Regions from separate parts of the Homo sapiens genome. Here all the other regions are linked to region 3. The links are contacts of gene promoters, found by promoter capture Hi-C in blood cells and fetal thymus (Javierre and others, 2016). All regions are on one chromosome and are shown on one strand. The core of a region is centred on a gene start or on the middle of the fragment in contact, and the rest is flanking DNA. Distances in the headings are between cores, read along the strand shown.

Region 1 (3,486 bases), core at 214-2,713, 280 kb before region 3:
CTCAAGATCACTCAGCTGGCAAGAGGCAGAGCCGCTGAATGTGTGGCCATGAGATGACCAGGGCACCCAAGCCGAAGGGCTCGTGAGGAAAGAGGCCACACTGGCTGCCCACTGCCCCTAGGTTCCAATCCCGGCACCCATCTGGGCCCACATAGAATTGGACCATTCCTGGTGGGCTTGGCTTTAGGAAAACCTGATAGCAAATTCCAAACCAATAAGAGCAAATAAATGAGGGGTGATTACCGACAATAAGAGAGGATACACTGCAGGGTGCCTCCAAATCGCATCTCCTCCAGTACGTTTTAAGTGCTTTATAGGTCATTAACTACTTGACAGAGAGAGCCTGACACTTAAAGCAAAGAATTTGGTACCTCTGCCAGGGAAAATCAATCAGAAATGAAGCTAGAGCATCAGAGGCGTTAAGATTTACTGGGTAGGCCAACGGGATTCAATTGACGCAGAATTTTAAGACCCTCTCCACTGTGTAAAGTAAGGCACACTGGTATTTGAAGCCATTTATAAATCCCAAACTAGAATTTAGAAACACTTAACCTCTCCCCTGCCATTTTTGTGTGTGTGTGGATGTTAATGAAATATTTCGAAGACATGGAAAAGTACAGAGATAAGCTTAAGCATCTAAGTCCCCCATCTGACTCTGTCAAATGAAATATTGCAGCTATGTGCAGCTATGATTGAAGCACCCACTATTTTTTTTTTTTTTTTTTTTGAGATGGAGTCTCTGTCTGTCGCCTGGGCTGGAGTGCAATGGTGCAATCTTGGCTCACTGCAACCGCAGCCTCCCAGGTTCAAGCGATTCTCTTGCCTCAGCCTCTCAAGTAGCTGGGACTACAGGTGCGTGCCACCATACCCAGCTAATTTTTGTATTTTTAGTAGAGACAGGGTTTCACCATGTTGGCCAGGCTGGTCTCGAACTCCTGAGCTCAGGTGATCCACCCACATCGGCCTCCCAGAGCGCTGGGATTACAGGTGTGAGCCACTGTGCGCAGCCAACAGGTGCACCTCTAGAAAGAGGGTGCTTCGGATGGGCACAGTGGCTCATGCCTGTGGTCCCAGCACTTTGGGAGGCTGAGGAGGGAGGATCACCTGAGGTCAGGAGCTCGAGACCAGCCTGGCCAACATAGTGAAACCCTGTCTCTACTAAAAATACAAAAATGAGCTGGGTGTGGTGGTGCATGCCTGTAGTCTCAGCTACTAGGGAGGCTGAGGCAGGAGAATTGCTTGAACCCAGGAGGCGGAGGTTGCAGTGAGCGGAGATCGTGCCACTGCACTCCAGCCTGGCAGCAGAGTGAGACTCTGTCTAAAAAAAAAAAAATTGGTGGGGCATGGGGGCATGCACCTGTAGTCCCAGCTACTTGGGAGGCTGAAGCAGGAGAATCACTTGAACCTGGGAGGTGGAGGTTGCAGTGGACCAACATTGCACTACTGCACTCTAGCCTGAGAGACAGAGCGAGACTCCGTTTCAAAAAAAAAAAAAAAGTGCACCTGTTTTTTCTTCCTGGCTTTTCAAATCCTTTCTGTCTTCTGGCTCTGCCTTGTCAGGGAGACCTAAGCTGACCACCCACCCCTGCCCAAGACATCACTCCTTCCTCTGAAATCAGAGTGCAATTACTGCCTCTTTAATTAGCTTGGCAATTAATCACCAGCTGCTTATGAAACAGCTTTTATTGTCCTTGTCCATCTTGGGATGTGGGTGGGAATGAGGACCAGGCAGGAAGAGGGAGGAGGGGCAGGCAGGCAGGGCCCTGCTCTGGCACCAGGCTGGGCAGGGTCAGCTGAAAAGGCCTGATGTCCAGAGGGTCGGCTGCCTCCCAACTCTGTTTCCACAGCTGCTAGGCACCAGGATCTGTGTAGTCCCAAGAGAACAGTGGGCAGCGACAGGGACATCCACCTTGTGCAGCCCTGGGGCCTCTGCTCTCGATGTTCCCTACTAATCAAAATGTTCTTTCCTCATTGAGCCTTGTTGAACTGTGTCCCCCAGAAAGATATATTGAAGTCCTGACCGCCGATACCTGTGAATGCAACCTGATTAGGAAATAGGGTCTTTGCAAATGTAATCTTCTTAAGATGAGGTCATACCGGATTAGGATGGGGCCTAAATCTAATGACTGATGTCCCTATAAGAAGGCCATGTGAAGACAGATGCAGGGAGCACTCATTCACCACACCACCAAGCCAGCTCCTCCTCTTCATGCCTCAATCTGGCTGCCTATGGGAGACAGGCTCTCAGCATTTTTCTAGTTGATTAACCCTTCTCTGCCCAACTCCGGGAGAAGCTTCTACACCTTCCTTTGTCAGAGGAAGCCCTCTCCCCCATCCCATCTCATACATCATCTCTCAATCAAAAGGACCTACTTGGGGGGGCATCCCAAGGACCCCCTCTCCATCAGAGAACAGCAGCCGGGAAGTCAGTCTGCTTCACGGTGCTCCCCATGACTTCCACAGGAAAATCCACCCCAAATGCCCCAAACTGTCAGAGTGGGCAATGCAGCATGGTTTGAGCAGAGTGCTTCCAACTTCCCCTGTGATGGGGGTGCAGAGGGGGGTTCAGGGGATGGATTCCCAGGAAGGGAAAGAGCCCAGCAGGTTACCAGGAATTTAACATGGAAGCAGAGGCTGTGTCATTCATACTGCCAAGCACAGTGCTGGGTATAGCATGTTCAAGCATGTTCATTTAAATGACACTTTTTTTTTTTGAGACAGAGTTTCGCTCTTATCACCCAGGCTGGAGTGCCAGTGGCATGACCTCAGCTCACTACAACCTCTGCCTCCTGGGTTCAAGTGATTCTCCTGCCCCAGCCTCCCGAGTAGCTGGGATTACAGGTGCCCACCAGCATGCTCAGCTAATTTTTGTATTTTTTAGTAGAGATGGGGTTTCATGATGTTGGCCAGGCTGGTCTCGAACTCCTGACCTCAGGTGATCCACCCACCTCGGCTTCCCAAAGTGCTGGGATTACAGGCGTGAGCCACTGTGCCCGGCCGAAGTAAGTTTTTTTGTTTTTGTTTTTGTTTTGTTTTGAGATGGAGTCTCACTCTGTCACCCAGGCTGGAATGCAGTGGTGCCATCTCGGCTTACTGCAAGCTCCGCCTCCCGGGTTCACGCCATTCTCTTGCCTCAGCTTCCCGAGTAGCTAGCTGGGACTACAGGTGCCCACCACCACGCCAGGCTAATTTTTTGTATTTTTAGTAGAGACGGGTTTTTTTTTTTTTCTGTCACCCAGGCTGGAGTGCAAGTGGTACAATCATAACACTGCAGCTTCCAACTCCTGGGCTCAAGTGATCCTCCCACCTCAGCCTCCCAAGTAGCTGGGAGTACAGGTGCACACCACCATGCCCAGAAAACTTCTTAATTTTTTTTTTGTAGAGACGGGGTTTCGCCATGTTGCCCAGGCTGGTTTCGAACTCCTGGGCGCAAGCGCTTCTCCCACCCTGGCCTCCCAAAGTGCTAGAATTATAGGCGTGAGCCAC
Region 2 (3,881 bases), core at 1,016-3,515, 400 kb after region 3:
GCCAGATGCTCTCCCTCCCCACCCACCAGCAGGAAGACTTCACCCCAGTGGGGGACAGGATTCATCTCAGGACAGGGGGCAGAGATGAAACCATTCACAGCCACTGCCTGTTCCTGTTCCCGGGTCCCACATCCATAGCCAGTGAAGGCTGGAGGCCATGGTAGGCTGTGCTTCCTGCCTGTGGGCCTCTCACTCCCAGAACAGTCGACTTGGAGACTGTCCCTCACAGCATCCTCTCCTCTGACCAGATCCTTGTTTCCTCCCCTTGGTGCTCGAGGCTCTCCAACATCCTCATCTGTGCACTTTCTCTGGCTTCCTATATCCTGGAGTTCTGCAACATCCTCAACTCCACCGTCATTCTTATTTCCTTGCCCTTGTACCTGGATCTCTTCAGCAATTTCAACTCTTAACTGTCCCTGGTCATCTCCTGCAGGAGCCTGGGTCTCTGTACCATCATCAGCTGTGGTCCCTCTCAGGTTTCTCTTCCCCTGTATTTGAATTTCTTCATCATTCCCACCTCCACCCTGTTCCTGGTTCTTCCACTCTGATAAACGGGTCTTTCCATTATCTTTACTTTTTAACAGTCTGTTTCTTCGCTCTAAGCCTCCAGTTTTTTCCCCTAAGCCTCCAGATCATTCTACCGTCCTCGTTTCCAACCTCTCTCTGGTTTCTCTTCTCTGATGCCTGATTTTCTGCAACATCCTTTCCAATCAGCTCCCAGTTCCTCCTCCCTGGTGAATGGCTCCCTCCAATTTCACTATCTAACTGGTCCTCGTTCTCTCTCTTAGGTCTCTGAGTCTTTACACCGTCCTCACCTCCAGGTTCTCTCTGGTTTCTCTCCACTGGAGCCTGAATTTCTGTTCCATTCTCACTTCCCATCTGCTTCTGGCTCTTCCACTCTGATAAAAGGATCTTTCTACCAAGATCACTTCTAAACTGACTCTGGGTTTCTTTCCCAGGTGCCCAGGTCTTTACACCGTCCTCACCTCCAACTTCTCTCAGGTTTCTCTTCCCTTGTATCTGAATTTCTGCCCCATTCTCACCTCCAATCTGCTGATCTTTCTTCCATTCTGCTGAATGCATTTCTCCATCAATTTGACTTGTTAATTTGCCCCAGTTCCCTGACTCAGATATCTGGGTATGTGCACCATCTTCGCCTCTAATATGTTCCTGATTCTTCCCCTTTGGTATGTGAATCTTTCCACTAAATTCATTTCCTAACTGACCCTGATTTTTCCTCCCAAGTTCCTGGGTGTCTTTATCATCCTCACCTTTAACCTCTCTCCTCCCTAGTGACTGAATGTCTGTACCATCCTCTTCTCTAAGTGGCTCATTGCTCTGAGTCTCCACATCAGTTTCACCTTTTAATTGTTCCTGGATCTCAGCCTCGGGTGCCAGGATATTTGTGCCATCCTCACATCCATCCTTTCTTTGGTCTCTCTTCTCTGATGCCTGAATTTCTGCTCTATGTTCACCTCCAATCCAGTTCTGATTCTCCCAACATAGTATCTCAAATTCTCTATAAATTTCACTTGCTACTTGTCTCCGGTTTCCCCACCATAGTGCCTGGATCACCACCCAATCCTTCTCTTATCTCCCTGAGCTTCTTCTTGGTAGCTATCTGGGTTTCCTTAGCATCTTCATCTCTTCTCAGGCCCTTATTTCCCCACCCCACTTGAATTTCATGACTTAATTGTTTCTGGTTCTCTCCCCCAGATGCTTGGGTCTTCTTAGCTTTCTTACTTCCACCTTGATCATGCTTCTCCCACCTTGGTGTCTGGATCTCTGTAACATTCCCATTTCCAACACATTCCTGTTTTCCCCAATCCAAGGCCTGGGTCTCTACACTATTCTCTTTTTTTACTTCTCCCACGTTCTCCCTCCCACATGATTGGGTTTGTGCAGCATCCTGACCTCCAACCTGATCCTTGTTTCTCCCCTCTTCCATCTGAATTTCCACATCCGCATCACCTTTCATCTGATCTTGTTTCTCCCACTGTGGTGTCTGGGTCTCCTCACCATTCTCATCTCCAGTCTGGCCTTGCTTCCCCAATCCTTGAGCCTGGATCTCTTCCCCATCCTCCTCTCCAGCCTCTTTCTTGTCCTTCTTCTCAAATGTCTGGGTCTCCACAGCATCCTCACTTCCATTCTTATCCTGGTTCTCCCACTCAGGTGTTTGGGTCTCTGCATCAATTTTACATCTTAACTGTTCTTGGTTCTCTCCCATATGTGCCTGGGTTTCAGGGAGATTCTCACCTCCAGCCTCCCTCTGGTTTCTATTCCCTAGTTCCTGAATGTTGGTTCTACTCTCAACTCCCATCCGGTCCTGGGTGTCCCACCCTGGTGTCAAGATCTCGCCATCAGTTTCACTTATTACTAGTCTCTGGTTTGCACACTCCAACACGTTAGTCTCTGCATCACCCTCCATTCCAAAGTCTACTGGGAACTACTCCCCAGATGCCTGGATTTCTGAAGCATCCTCCCGTCTGCTCCCTGTCTGGTTCACCCACCTTGGAGCCTGGGTCTCTCTACTATCCTCTCTGCCTGCTTTCTGGTTTTTACCCCCTGGTTCCCAGGCCTCTGGTCGACAGTGCCAAGACTTCCAAGTGCACATTCTCAGTGTTTGGTGGGAAGGATCAGGCAGGAGCTCTCTGGGGGCAGAACTGCAGCCTCTCAGCTGAAAGTAAGTTTGGAAGAGAGGTGGTTAAGGTCATGGAGGTGGGGCGAGACCTCACACTGATGACAGGCTCCAGTGACACCAACCTTTCCTGTGAGTGAAGCAGCAGCTGCTCCATCTCTTGACACATGTCCAAGGCAGGGCGAGTCTGACCATCATGGAGACACCAAGGCACCTGCCATGCTTTCCAGGAACTGTTCTGAGGCAGTAAACAGGTGTTTGAAATGGAGGTGGTACAAAAGATGGGCTCAGAGTGGGTGTGGACACCCGAAGGTGGGCCTGGACATGGGTGCTGTGGAGAGAGCAGGTTCTGGGCCCATGATTCCTGGAGGCTCCTCCGGTATCCCCATCTCTGCCTTTGTGCGCATTGTTGAGAATCTAGGCCCCTGGACTTTCCAGGACTGAAGAATTCAGGAGTCAGCTTGAAGACAGTTTCGCACCTCATGGAGGGCACTGCCCGCTTCTGCAGTGGCACCTGTAGATGAGAACAGAGAAGCAAAATCCTTGCACACATAATAACTTGCATAATCCGCACAGACAGAATAGTCAGGAAAGGCTTCTTGGAGGAAGTGACATTTGACTGGAGCCTGAATGAAGTAAGGGGCAAACCAAGTGACATCTGAGGAAAGAGCGTTGTAGGCAGAAGAGACATTAAGTACAAAGGCTTGAGGATGGAACAAAATTACATGTACAGGAACAGCAAAGAAGACTGTGTGGCCAGAATGGAACCAGTAATGAGGAGAGCACTGGGAGATAAGATCGGAGACAAACATGGGACAGATTATGCTGGTCCTTAGAGTCGTGATTAGGAGCGAGAATTTTATTCTGAGTTTGCCAGATAATGTAAGTATAGGAGCCATTGCAGGGTTTTGAGCAGCTAAGTGCTATGTTCTGTTTCTAAAAGTTTGTTCTGATGGCAGGGCATGGTGGCTCATGTCTGTAATCCCAGCACTTTGGGAGGCCAAGATGGGTGGATCACTTGAGGTCAGGAGTTCCAGACCAGCCTGGCCAACATGGCAAAACCCCTTCTCTACTAAAAATACAAAAATTAGCCAGCCATCATGGCGCATGCCTGTAATCCCAGCTACTCAGGAGGCTGAGGCACAAGAATTGCTTGAACCCAGGAGGCGGAGGTTGCAGTGAGCCAAGATCACGCCACTGCAGTCCAGCCTGGGTGACAGAGCGTGACTCCATCTGAAAAAAA
Region 3 (3,563 bases), core at 190-2,689:
AGCTGAGGCAGGAGAATGGCTTGAACATGAGAGGCGGAGGTTGCAGTGAGCCGAGATTGCACCATTGCAGTCCAGCCTAGGTGAGTCTCACTCTGTCTCAAAAAAAAAAAAAAAAAAGGGTATATCAACACAATCTCACTGGTGTGTTGTGAAGCCTAGCCAAGTTAATGTACCTAGAGAACTAGAGAACAGTGGCTACTAAGGACATCTAAGGACACTTTATACAAACCTTAACTGTGTTACAACTTCTTAAGTCAGTACTGAGGTTCAAAAGCTTCCATTTTATTATTATGCTTTATAATTTATATATGTTACGTGCTTTCTTTTGTATAGCTCACTTGAATATATATATACATTTTAGAAGATAATAAGGAAGAAAAAAAGTATATCTGGTTTTTTAACCCTTCGAAATGGGAAAGTTTGGAGTAGATGCTCAGCCCCGGCCCCTGGCCCTTCCCCAATACTCACAGGCTCCTGTCAACTACACCTTCAGAAAAAGACGGAGCCTCTTAGGCAGCAGTCAGGCAGGTGGGGGCGATCTGTCAGGTGACCTAGACTCTGGGCCATCTCAGTTTCCTCACCTGTAAAATGGGGATGCTGAGGTACCTACCTGACCTATGAGAGCGGAGAACACTGAGATATCTTGCCCATGGCCTGCCCTGTGGTTAGCTGTCGTTTTTTCCTTGACACTTGTAGGCTCCTCTTCATGTTTACATAACCTCAGTGGGAAAACGCCAGCGAAGAGAGACACTCAGAATGGACGATCTAAAGTTCCTTCCAGCTTCCAAATTCTGGGCTGGTTTTCAGAGATCCAGGGCTCGGGATGCGAATGTCCCTGTCTACGATGGGGCTGCCGTTACAGCCTTCCTCCCGGGGCTCTGGAGACGCGCCAGCTCTTTGACACCTCTCCTGCGCTAAGGAAGAGTTGGTTTACAGAAAAGTAAGTATATCCTGGCCCTGCAGAAAGCCGCCAGGCGGCAGGACAAGCCCCACCGCAGCCCAGGCGCCATTATCTGCCTCAGCAGTTACCTCGGGGTCCCGCCACGAGGAGGTTCTTCAAGGCCTGCGCGCCCACGGACACTACCAAGGAGCGCGGCGGGCAGCCGGATAGCAGGACGCTGAGGGAAACCCCGCAGTCGCTCGGCGTCCCCGGCGCCAGCTCACGACCCAGCGACCTCCTGCGGCCCGAGCGTCCCCTGGCGGCAACGCCGGCTCGTTAGAGCGAGCGACAGATGGTGTAGTCCAAAGGCCAAGCGGCGTTTCTGTAGATGAGCATGCGCAGCACCCACCGTTCGCTCAGCCAGAGAGAGGCTTCCCAGCCAATCCGAGAGCCTCAGAGTCATCCTCCCGCCCACCCAGCATACAGGCGGGGCGTTCCTCCTTAGCCAATGGGAAAAGACATTCGCCCGCGGTCCGCACGCGCTGCTTGCAAAGGGGTGGGGTTGTGGAGTGGATGCTTTGGCAAGATGGCGGGGAGCGGCGTCCGCCAAGCTACTTCTACCGCCAGCACCTTCGTGAAGCCCATTTTCAGTCGGGACATGAACGAGGCCAAGCGGAGGGTGCGCGAGCTCTACCGCGCCTGGTATCGGGAGGTGCCGAACACTGGTGAGAGGTAGCGGCTTACGTGGGGACCCGGAGGCCGCCGCTCAAGGTCGTAGCCGGCCCGGCCGGGGTTTCTCATGGGCCCAGCTGAGGTCACCAACTTGGGCAGAGGCGACTGCGGGTGCTTCAGGGGAAGAGGGTCACCCGAGCCTACCATGGGCCGGACCTGGCGGCGGCGCGGTGGTCAGACCGGCCGTGCCTAGCATTCGTACGTGCTATCGGAGCTTTGGTCTCTTTTGTCCTTCGCAATTGGCGGGAGGACGATGACTGTCAGTGACACACTCACTTTGTGGGTGAGGCAGCGGAGGCACCGAGAGGTGAAGTGATGTGCCCAGGGCCCAGGCCGAGCCACTGTTGTACCCAGAACCCAAAGTCTAGAGTTGCAGAGTGTAATTATAGATGCCCGTTGGATTTTTTTGTTTGTGACAGAGTCTCGCTGTGTCGCTCAGGCTGGAGTGCAGTGGTGCGATCTCGGCTCACTGCAAGCTCCGCCTCCCGGATTCACGTCATTCTCCTGCCTCAGCCTCAGCCTCCCGAATAGCTGGGATTACAGGCGCCCGCCACCACGCCGGCCATTTTTTTTTGTATTTTTAGTAGAGACGGGATTTCACCGTGTTAGCCAGAATGGTCTCGATCTCCTGACCTCGTGATCCGCCCGTCTCGGCCTCCCAAAGTGCGAGAAAGAGGTGTTTTTGAGTGAGCTGGAGCACGGTGCCACTCCTCAGGGCTGTCGAGTCCCTGCTTGTGTGTGTGAAAAGGCGGTAGAATGTGGTGGTTAGGAGCACGGACTTTTCTTCAGGCGCTGCCCTCAACTAGCTGTGTGACCTTGGGCCAGTTATTTCATCTATTCCTCAGTTTCTTCATCTTTAAAATGGGAATAATAATTCCTTCTTCAGAAGGTTACTGTATTAAGTTAAAATATCTAGAGTGCTTAGAACAGGACTTGATGCATATTTAACTCATTAAATATTAGCTGCTGCCGTTGTTTTTGTTGTTATTTTTGTTATTTATAGGGCTTTCCTTAGCAGCAGCTTCCAAGCAGAACCCGGTTCTTTGACATATGAGAACTGTGTCTGCTCCACAGAGTCCCTGTCTTCAAGCTGACTTTTGGAAAAATTGCTACTGACCAGAACTTAAACCCACGCGATACTAGAGAAGGAGAAACTTGAGTGATCTGCTGGTTCAGGGACTGCAAATTCAGATGCCTTCAGGGGCAGGCAGATAAAAGATGTGTGTGGGGAGTGACTGTAGCAGTGTGTGTGTGTGTGTGTGTGTGTGTGTTTCGGGGTGGTGCATTCAAATTCAGCAGTTTGAAAACATAATGTTTGCCTGGCAGAATACTTCTAGGAGTACCCAGAACCCTCTCTGGTTGCAGGAGGAAGGTGCTGGGGGAAGGAGGACCACATTCAAAAAGGGTGGCTTGTGAAGGGTAAATCAGTGGCCAAGTAGAAGACAGAACCCAGGTATCCTGACTCTGAGGATCCAGCTCTTTCTAAACCGACCCCTCCCAAGACCTTCCCTCAAATTCTGTTTTGGGAAGAAAGTCCCAAAGTCAGAAGGGTCTTGAGAGGAGGAAAAGAAGGCAGAGGGCTACAGGAGCCTAGAAAGCAAGGGAAGAGGAGAGAAAAGAAGGGGTCAAGGAGTATGCATCCCTATGGGGAAGATCAGTGATCTGTAGCTGGCCAGTTACTCAAACCTGTGCCACACGGGTTTTATGGTATCCATCATCAGGACTCCAGCTGAGGAATCAAATCAAGGAAGGGGAATAAGTAATAGTGTTGAGAACTTAGAACAGCCTGAGCATTAATAAAAAACAAAAGTAAAATTTTAAGTATTTAATGAAAAAAACAGTAATGATAACTCACTTTTTTTTTTTTTTTTTTTTTTGAGACAGAGTCTCGCTCTTGTCTCCCAGGCTGGAGGGCAATGGCGCGATCTTGGCTCACTGCAACCTCCACCTC
Region 4 (3,962 bases), core at 599-3,098, 290 kb after region 3:
CCAGGCTGGTCTTGAACTTCTGGACTCAAGTGATACTCCCTCCTTGACCTCCCAAAGTACTGGGATTACAGACGTGAGCCCCTGCTCCCAACCACTACAAGGGTTTTGACACTGACTCCTAGTCACCAGTCTCCAACTGGAGACTCCTAGTCTCCAACATGGCAAGAGACCAACAACCCAAGATAGGTCCGTCCCAGCACTGAGGGACCTAACTACAGGATGACTGATCAGTAAAGTTTTTGGAGAAAGATCTTGACCAAAAGGGGGAAATATGAAAGTTGTTAGAATCAAAACAGAGTCGTTTGTGTTAAAAACTCTGACAAATTTAAAGCATGATTCTCCAATGGGAAAAAACAAGAACAACAACTCTGACAAATAAAACCGAGGAAGGTTGTGAAAAGAGGGTTCTTATGCACAAATGACTGATAACAAGATCACAAAAAATGCAAAAACCACAACCCTGCACAAAGGCCACTGCAAACTTACACAGAAAAATCTTTCTGTGAGGACATCTGCCCTGCAACTGCCTGTCCAACCTCAGACTAGCACCACTCTTGCTATTCATCCTTGTAGCCAAGGATAACTATCTCAAAATAATCATGTAATCCTCATTTTTCCTTTTCAAAACCTTTGTCTTCCTTTACCTCCCCAAATACGTACACAGGTTACTATGGCACACATATTGTCACTACAATGTCTATTCCCAAGTAAACATCATTTTTTTAGAGTCTCTCACTCTGCTATTTAGGTTGACAGTACCTACCACACTCTAGGCACTGTTCTAGAGGCGGGAATACAGCAATAAATAAGCAAAAATCTCTGCACTCATGGTACTTGTCTCTAGTAGGGATAAGAGTTGATCAATAAACTTGTAAAATAAGCACAGAGGGATGAGAGGGTGTCGGTCAGGTACAAGATTACATAAAGTGGTCAGGAGAGGTCTCACACTCAGATTACAACTCCCCAATGTTACCAATGTGAAATCAAGGCACAGAAAAATGAGGTGACTGCCCAAAGTCACACAGCTATTCCCAGGCTGAACCAAGTGTCTGTTTGGCTCTAAGTCCAGTGCTCTGTCTTCTGACTCTTTGTAAATGAGCACAGGCTACCTGAGATCAGAGCTGGCTACTGAACTACCAGGACACCTGCCCCAGGGGAGAGATGCTCAGTTACAGACAGTGAGGGGCTGCAGAGATCATCCGGAGAACCCCCTACCCCCAAGCAGACGAGATAAGTGAAACCTAGAGAAGGAATAGTCCAAGTTCACCCAGGACCCTCCACATTCCACCTCCTGCTCCAAACTCAAGGGAACCAGAACCAGGCTAGGGCAAAACTTTAGGGGCCAAGGAGAATACCAGACAGCTGGCAATGACTGAAGCAGGTAGTGGGAAAGAAAAGCCAGAACAGCAGCCTGCGGGACAGGTCCTGCTTTCTCTACTGTTAAACTCACTTTTTCAGCCTCTCAATCCCGATCCTGCCGTATGCGTCACCCGGAGCTCCTCCTGGCTCAGCATGAGGCTCTGAACTCCTGCAGAGGTACCAGGTAGTGGCGGGCCTTGAGCCAGCTACCGGGGTCGGGGGCCCAGGTGGTTGACCCCGAGCCTTCGGAGCTCCCGGAGGAGGGAGCGAGCCTTCTCAAGGAACAGAGGCGTCCAGGTCCACGAAACTCCCTCCCCACCACCTGCAGCCGGTTCGAGGCCCTCGGTTCTCTCATTATCCTTCCCGGGAACCTGCAGCCCGCGGCCCCTACAGCCACCTACCTGGCCAGTCGGTGCAGGAAGGGCAGGTGGCCGAGTCCTGTGCGAGCAGCTAGGCTCGAAGGTCCAACAGGCTAACAGCAAAGCAACTGAAAGCGGGAGCAAACGGCTAGCAACCGAGCGCAGACCGCCGAGCTCCGTCCCGCCCACCGCGCTGCTCCCGGCCAATGAGCGCGAGCCGCCACTGCGGGGCTCCGCTAGCCTCACTTCCGGCCCCGCTCCACCGCCCCTGCCTGCCCCTCCAGGCTCTGGCGTGCCTCCAGCGCGCTGTGGGCACCATCCTCGTCCTGTCCCTCCTGCGGGCCCTGGGTACGTGGCCCTGGATTTAGCTTGTGTTGGAGGAAGTTAAATCTGTGGGTGGGGTCTGTGCCCAATTTAAGGCGTGAATCAGCAAACTGGGGTCCCAGCTCCTGTCGGCCGGGCGACCTTCTGCGCGCCCTCCCTGAAACTGTGTCGTCGTCTGTGGCCGAGTTTTTAAACTTTAGATCGCAACGTGAGTTTAGTGGGCGGTGACTAGCACTTTTGTTCTTCTTTAAGGACCTCAGAGACTCAGTGCAGGATTCGGGCATCCCCTCCTTGCCCCTCCGGTCCACCAACTAATAAGCCAAGTGCGGCGGGGGCTTCCTCGTCCGTTCGTTAGGCCGAGTGCAGCCCCACTTTTGCGCAGGATCAGGACAGTCAGACCCGAGAAGGCAGCGTGGCGTGGCCATCTCCGGGCCCGGGGCCCCTGCCGGGCGGGAAGGGAGCTGGAGGCCCGGTCTGGGCTGAGCTCCCCAGAACAGGCGCAGGGCAGGCACTGTCGAGCGCAGACCTCATGCCGGGGACCAAGCTGGACATGCATTCCCAGGATCTACCCACGAGGGTGCATAAACACCAGTTCTGATGACGGCTGTACGGGAAGGGACAGAGGTGACCTACTTTAGCCAGACAAGGGCTGAGGCTGGGACAGTTTCGTTCTGATAGGAAAGCTGAGAATTTGACCCTCCTTGCCTGGAAAGTTTACCTCTATCCACCTCCACGTGAGGCGAGGGAGCAGGTCAAGTGCCTCTGGGAGCTGTTGAATCGCAGCAGCCCCAACCCCTAGGCCTTTCTCTGCCCTGCCAGCCCCAGGATGGCCTGACTGGTGTTCTCTGAGTACAGCTGAGGCACCCAGCTGACTCCTTGAATGCTGTTACAAGAACAAATCCTGTCCCGTCCCTCCTTCCCTGAGGAGGCCATCAGTCTCCTTGCTGAAACAATCCCTTATCCAACTGGCTGAGAAACCAGCTCCTGGTAGACAAGGTAGTACAGTGTTTTTGGAGAGCTCGCGCAGGTATGTGAGTGTATCATTTTATTTCCTTATTCTATTTCAACAATAGAGTATATGGCTCCATATGAATAGCTTCAGCTGTCATCCATTTCCCCAACAATTATGCCCTTTGTCTCCAGGTCTCATTCTCTCTCCACTTCTGGGCCTTCAAGTCCTGAGGATCAGTTTCTGATGTGGGACAGGGATACAGCCACCCCTCCCAGGCAGCTGGCAGCAAAACATGAGAGGAAAACAGCAGAGAAGTGGGGCCAACCATGGGGGCATCACACTTCCAGAGCCCAAAACAGTCAAGAATGGTCAGGCAAGAACAGAAGTGCTCCTGAGAATAGTGGGATGGATTCTGAAATTGGGTCCTGAACACCTGGGCTAGGTAGTTGCTATTCAACAGGGAACTATTGCACGGAAGGGGCAAGGAAGAGAGCCAGGGAGGCAGCCAGAGGGGTGCAGAGGAAGCAAACTACCCTCACACACACCTCTGGACTGCAGTATCTCTGGACTGCAGTGTCTCTGGGTGCAACCAGCCACCTACCAGAGGGTCTCTGACCACTGCCACAGCCCCAAGCTTGCTTTTTTTTTTTTTTTTTGAGACATAGTCTCACTCTGCCACCCAGGCTGGAGTGTGCAGTGGCACAATCTCGGCTCTCTGGTCACTGCAATCTCCACCTCCCAGGTTCAAGTGATTGTCCTGCCTCATCCTCCCAAGTAGCTTGGATTACAGGCATGCACCACCATGCCCGGCTAATTTTTGTATTTTTAGTAGAGATGGGGTTTTACCATGTAGGCCAGGCTCGTCTCAGAACTCCTGACCTCAAGTGATCCACTCACCTTGGCTGGGATTACAGTGTGAGCCACTGCGCCCGGCCCCCAAGCTTTCTTTTTTTTTGAGACGGAGTCTT
Region 5 (3,855 bases), core at 543-3,042, 380 kb before region 3:
TCTTGGGGGAGGCATCATCCTGCTACCACAGTGAGGATGCTACTTTGAACAGGGTGGTCAGGGAGGGCTTCTGTGAGTAGCTGGCATTGAAAGGAAGATCTGAAGCATAAGAAGGAGCTGACAACATCAAGTGGCAGCTTCTCAGGCAGAGGGAGTGCCACGTGCAAAGGCCCCGGGGCAGAGAAGAGATGGGTGTGTTTAGGAGCAGGTGGGATCTAGAGTGGCTACAGCACACTAAGGGGAAGAGTGACCCCAGGTGAGGCTCAGAGGGAGGCTGGGATCAGATAGTGCAGGTGCACTGGTTTTCTCTCCCAGCCTAGGTCATCATAATTAGTGTGATTTCCATGCCATTGTCAAACACAAGCTTGATTCTGTGTGTGAGATGGCTGTGTTTTAACAATGTGTGATTCTTGTAGATTTGTTCACGAAGTTGTTTGAGATCTGGCTGTAAGACACAGGCAATTGTTACCCATTCATAAGGTCACTTTTTCTTTTTTTTTTTGAGACAGAGTCTCACTCTATTGGAGTGACTGGTGCGATCTCGGCTCACTGCAACCTCCACTTCCTGGGTTCAAGTGATTCTCCTGCGTCAGCCTCCAGAGTAGCTGGGATTACAGTTGTGCACCACCACACCTGGCTAATTTTTGTATTATTAGTAGAGATGGGGTTTCACCGTGTTGGTCATACTGGTCTCGAACTCCTGACCTCAGGTGATCCACCTGCCTCGGCCTCCCACAGTGCTGGAATTACAGATGTGAACCACCACGCCCAGCCCCAGTCACCTTTTAAATTTACTGAATAGACTGATTCATCCTTCTAAGAGAAGGGATAGCCAGGTGCAGTGGCTCACACCTGTAATCCCAGCACTTTGGGAGTCTGAAGTGGGTGGATCTCTTGAGCCCAGGAGTTTGAGACCAGCCTGGGCAACATGGTGAAATCCTGTCTCTACAAAAAATTAGCTGGACGTGGCTGGGCGCGGTGGCTCACGCCTGTAATCCCAGCACTTTGGGAGGCTGAGGAGGGCAGATCACGAGGTTAGGAGATCAAGACCATCCTGGCTAACACGGTGAAACCCCATCTCCACTAAAAAAAAAAAAAATACAAAAAATTAGCTGGGCATGGTGGCAGGCACCTGTAGTCCCAGCTACTCGGGAGGCTGAGGCAGGAGAATGGCGTGAACCCAGGAGGCAGAGCTTGCAGTGAGCCGAGATATAGCCACTGCACTCCAGCCTGGGTGATAGAGCAAGACTCCGGCTCAAAAAAAAAAAAAAAATTAGCTGGACGTGGTGGTGCATGCCTGTAGTCCCAGCTTCTCGGGAGGCTGAGGCAGGAGGATTCACACCCAGGAGGCGGAGGTTGCAGTGAGCTGAGATCGTGTCACTACACTCCAGTCTGGGTGACAGCACGCAACTCTGTCTCAAAAATAAATAAATAAATAAATAAATAAATAAATAAATAAATAATAAATAAATAAATAAAAATGGTAACCCTAGTTTGCATAATGGTTTTGAGCTATGAACCTAGACTTAAAGGGAATACATTGAATAAATCGAATGACCATGGAGAATTAGATGAGACCTGTTGTAACCAAGTGACTTGTTTTCTTATTTTGTGTATTTGGGTCTCAACTTCCCCAAAGAAATTTATCCAGGTGTGGCATGTAGTATTAGCAATAGCACAGACATTTCCTTATCCAACCAATAAATAATATAGAGCAAATTCATCATCTAGTATCCCACAACTGGGATGCATTAAAGCCGAGTGAACAACAGTTCTATTAGGGATGTTGCCAAAGTTACCCACTAGGTGGCCTAAAGGATCTCTTAGGTCAGGTTCTGTCAAGTTACCAGCAGAAGCTACTGATTGGGAAGTTTCAGTTGCATCATTATCCTGCCAAGTGGAAAAAATTGGCATAAGCAGGGAAGAATTAAGAGGGACAAGAGGCTCATGATGGGGACTCTTGTTCTGTTGTCTTGGGAAAAGCCACCCACAGCATGAAGCCATCAACTGCTTGTCCTGGTTTACAGTTAGACTGTCTCTGCTCATGGCATGAGGCAGTCCAGTGAACTTTCTATATGGTCCATAGATCACACACAAGACTCATCCCTTAAAATTCATTTAGTTTCAGCTTATAGTGCCTTAGGAACAGAGCAATTCCCATTCTTAGTATTCTATGGAAGAAAGTTGGATTGGAGGAACCAAAAATAATTTAGGGTCAGGTGGGTACGGTGGCTCACGCCTGTAATCCCAGCATCCCGTGCACGCCTCAACCAGGGTAAAAATCTTTATGCTGTATGCAGGCAGATGTGCACAGAAATAGAACTAAAAATGGTCTATAACTGATTCCCTTGAGCTCGCAAGTCCCCACTCTTGCTCACGGCAAAAGAGAGAAAGGAAATAACACCAGGAACATGCTCATCAGAGCTAACTCAGCCTCTTCAGTCTTCCAAAACTCCCTTCCTCATTAACGCGTCAAGATTAAAGTTCAAGTTCAGGTTCAAGTTCCGATCAAGTGTCTCTCCCTGCTCCTTTCTGAGATGCTGCTAGGGTGCGGGGTAACTAGGGCACCCTCCTGGCTCCTGCCTCTCAGCCATGGCCAGGGCGGTTCCTGGACCTTCCGTCCTGGTGTCCACGAGGCGATACCATCATGCATTATTCTCAACCTCCAGCCCAGGGCTCCCAGCCTGGCCTCTGTACCCCAATCTCAGTCTTTTGATTCATCAGGGCCTGGGCTGCTTTTCCCACTCCACACTAGAGAGTGTAGGCTGGGTGTAGCCTCACACTAGATCTGTGAGGCTGCCTTCCAGGCCACTGTCCTAGACCCTTTCCTGGCCATTTCCAAAGCATGCCTGAGCAGCCCCTGTCGTTCTGCTGCCATGCTCACCGCAGGCCTTGCTACCACTGTGTTAACCCCGAGGAGGGAATCAGGACGCTGACATCTGATCTCCTGTGTCTTCCTACTGATGGGAACTTCCCTAAGTCACACCTTCAGACCCTGTGCACTGCTTATAATCCAAGTCCAGGATTCTGTTATTTACGTCTTAAAGCAGAGCCTTTGGAATTTAGAAAATCTCTTTTTTCTCTGAAAGCTCAGTTTCAAGACTACCGAATCACATGCACTTGGAGTCAGTCTTAATACTTAAAAGTGAAAGCGTCTTTCTTTCTCATCACCTACCTACTATGAAAATCATAATTATCCTTGAGGCCAACAGAAGCTTCTGACTGAATAAGAGAAGGAAAAAATATTAATACATCTAAGATAGTATCTGGCCAGGTGCGGTGGCTCATGCCTGTAATCCCAGCACTTTGGGAGGCTGAGGTGGGCAGGTCATTTGAGGTCAGGAGTTCGAGGCCAGTCTGGCCAACATAGTGAAACCCTGTCTCTACTAAAAATACCAAAAAGAAAAAAAAAAAAAAGAGCCTGGCATGGTGGCACACACCTGTAATCCCAGCTACTCGGGAGGCTGAGGCACGAGAATCGCTTGAACCCAGGAGATGGAGGTTGCAGTGAGCCAAGATTGCACCACTGCACTCCCGCCTGGGTTACAGAGTGAAACCCTGTCTCGAAAAAAAAAAAAAAGATAGTATCCCTCTTTTACTTGTAGCATAGCACTTATCACAAATGTACTAGAATTGTTCCATATCTGTCATCCTAAATAGAGAGGAATTACTTAAAGGAAGGGCACAAATCTTACTCACTTTTTATGTCAAGTGCCTAAATATTGTGCCTGGCACTTTATACGCTCCCAGAAACTATTGGATAGATGGATAGGTGGATGAGTGTGTGGATGGGTGGGTGGATGGTGGATGGATGGATGGATGGATGGATGGATATGTGTGTGGGTGGATGGATGG

Evidence for each region. The method cuts DNA at HindIII sites, captures the fragments that hold promoters and counts their contacts. A CHiCAGO score of 5 or more calls a contact.
Region 1: a fragment that was not itself captured here is called in contact with the fragment with the promoter of NDUFA6 in region 3 in 7 of 17 cell types (non-activated CD4 T cells, activated CD4 T cells, neutrophils and 4 more); the score reaches 6.9 in non-activated CD4 T cells.
Region 2: a fragment that was not itself captured here is called in contact with the fragment with the promoter of NDUFA6 in region 3 in 1 of 17 cell types (naive CD4 T cells); the score reaches 5.1 in naive CD4 T cells.
Region 4: a contact is called between the fragment with the promoter of CCDC134 here and the fragment with the promoter of NDUFA6 in region 3, in 3 of 17 cell types (total B cells, endothelial precursors and naive B cells). The highest score is 7.6, in total B cells.
Region 5: a contact is called between a fragment that was not itself captured here and the fragment with the promoter of NDUFA6 in region 3, in 16 of 17 cell types (M1 macrophages, M2 macrophages, M0 macrophages and 13 more). The highest score is 18.1, in M1 macrophages.

Annotation. Positions count from the first base shown.
Region 1 is chr22:42,370,006-42,373,491 of GRCh38, reverse strand. It overlaps LOC124905126 (a long non-coding RNA gene), which reads right to left. Exons shown (of 2, transcript XR_007068114.1): 2 at 1,666-2,030. Among named protein-coding and RNA genes, the nearest start is that of LINC01315, 2.5 kb to the right of the region's middle. The HindIII fragment of the contact is 1,667 bases long and covers 630-2,296 here.
Region 2 is chr22:41,692,734-41,696,614 of GRCh38, reverse strand. It overlaps the pseudogene C22orf46P. Among named protein-coding and RNA genes, the nearest start is that of MEI1, 4.8 kb to the left of the region's middle. The HindIII fragment of the contact is 7,463 bases long and covers 1-3,881 here.
Region 3 is chr22:42,088,648-42,092,210 of GRCh38, reverse strand. NDUFA6 (NADH:ubiquinone oxidoreductase subunit A6) reads left to right here and starts at 1,439. Exons shown (of 3, transcript NM_002490.6): 1 at 1,439-1,605. The coding sequence starts at 1,467. NDUFA6-DT (NDUFA6 divergent transcript) reads right to left here and starts at 1,278. Exons shown (of 5, transcript NR_034118.2): 1 at 1,030-1,278; 2 at 611-914; 3 at 1-92. The HindIII fragment of the contact is 8,372 bases long and covers 277-3,563 here.
Region 4 is chr22:41,798,565-41,802,526 of GRCh38, reverse strand. CCDC134 (coiled-coil domain containing 134) reads right to left here and starts at 1,848. Exons shown (of 7, transcript NM_024821.5): 1 at 1,761-1,848. It overlaps MEI1 (meiotic double-stranded break formation protein 1), which reads right to left. Exons shown (of 31, transcript NM_152513.4): 31 at 3,073-3,273. The coding sequence ends at 3,228. RefSeq lists silencers at 1,826-1,885, 2,476-2,565 and enhancers at 2,036-2,115, 2,186-2,265, 2,041-3,027. The HindIII fragment of the contact is 12,855 bases long and covers 1-3,630 here.
Region 5 is chr22:42,471,661-42,475,515 of GRCh38, reverse strand. No RefSeq gene overlaps it. Among named protein-coding and RNA genes, the nearest start is that of NFAM1, 41 kb to the right of the region's middle. The HindIII fragment of the contact is 2,851 bases long and covers 367-3,217 here.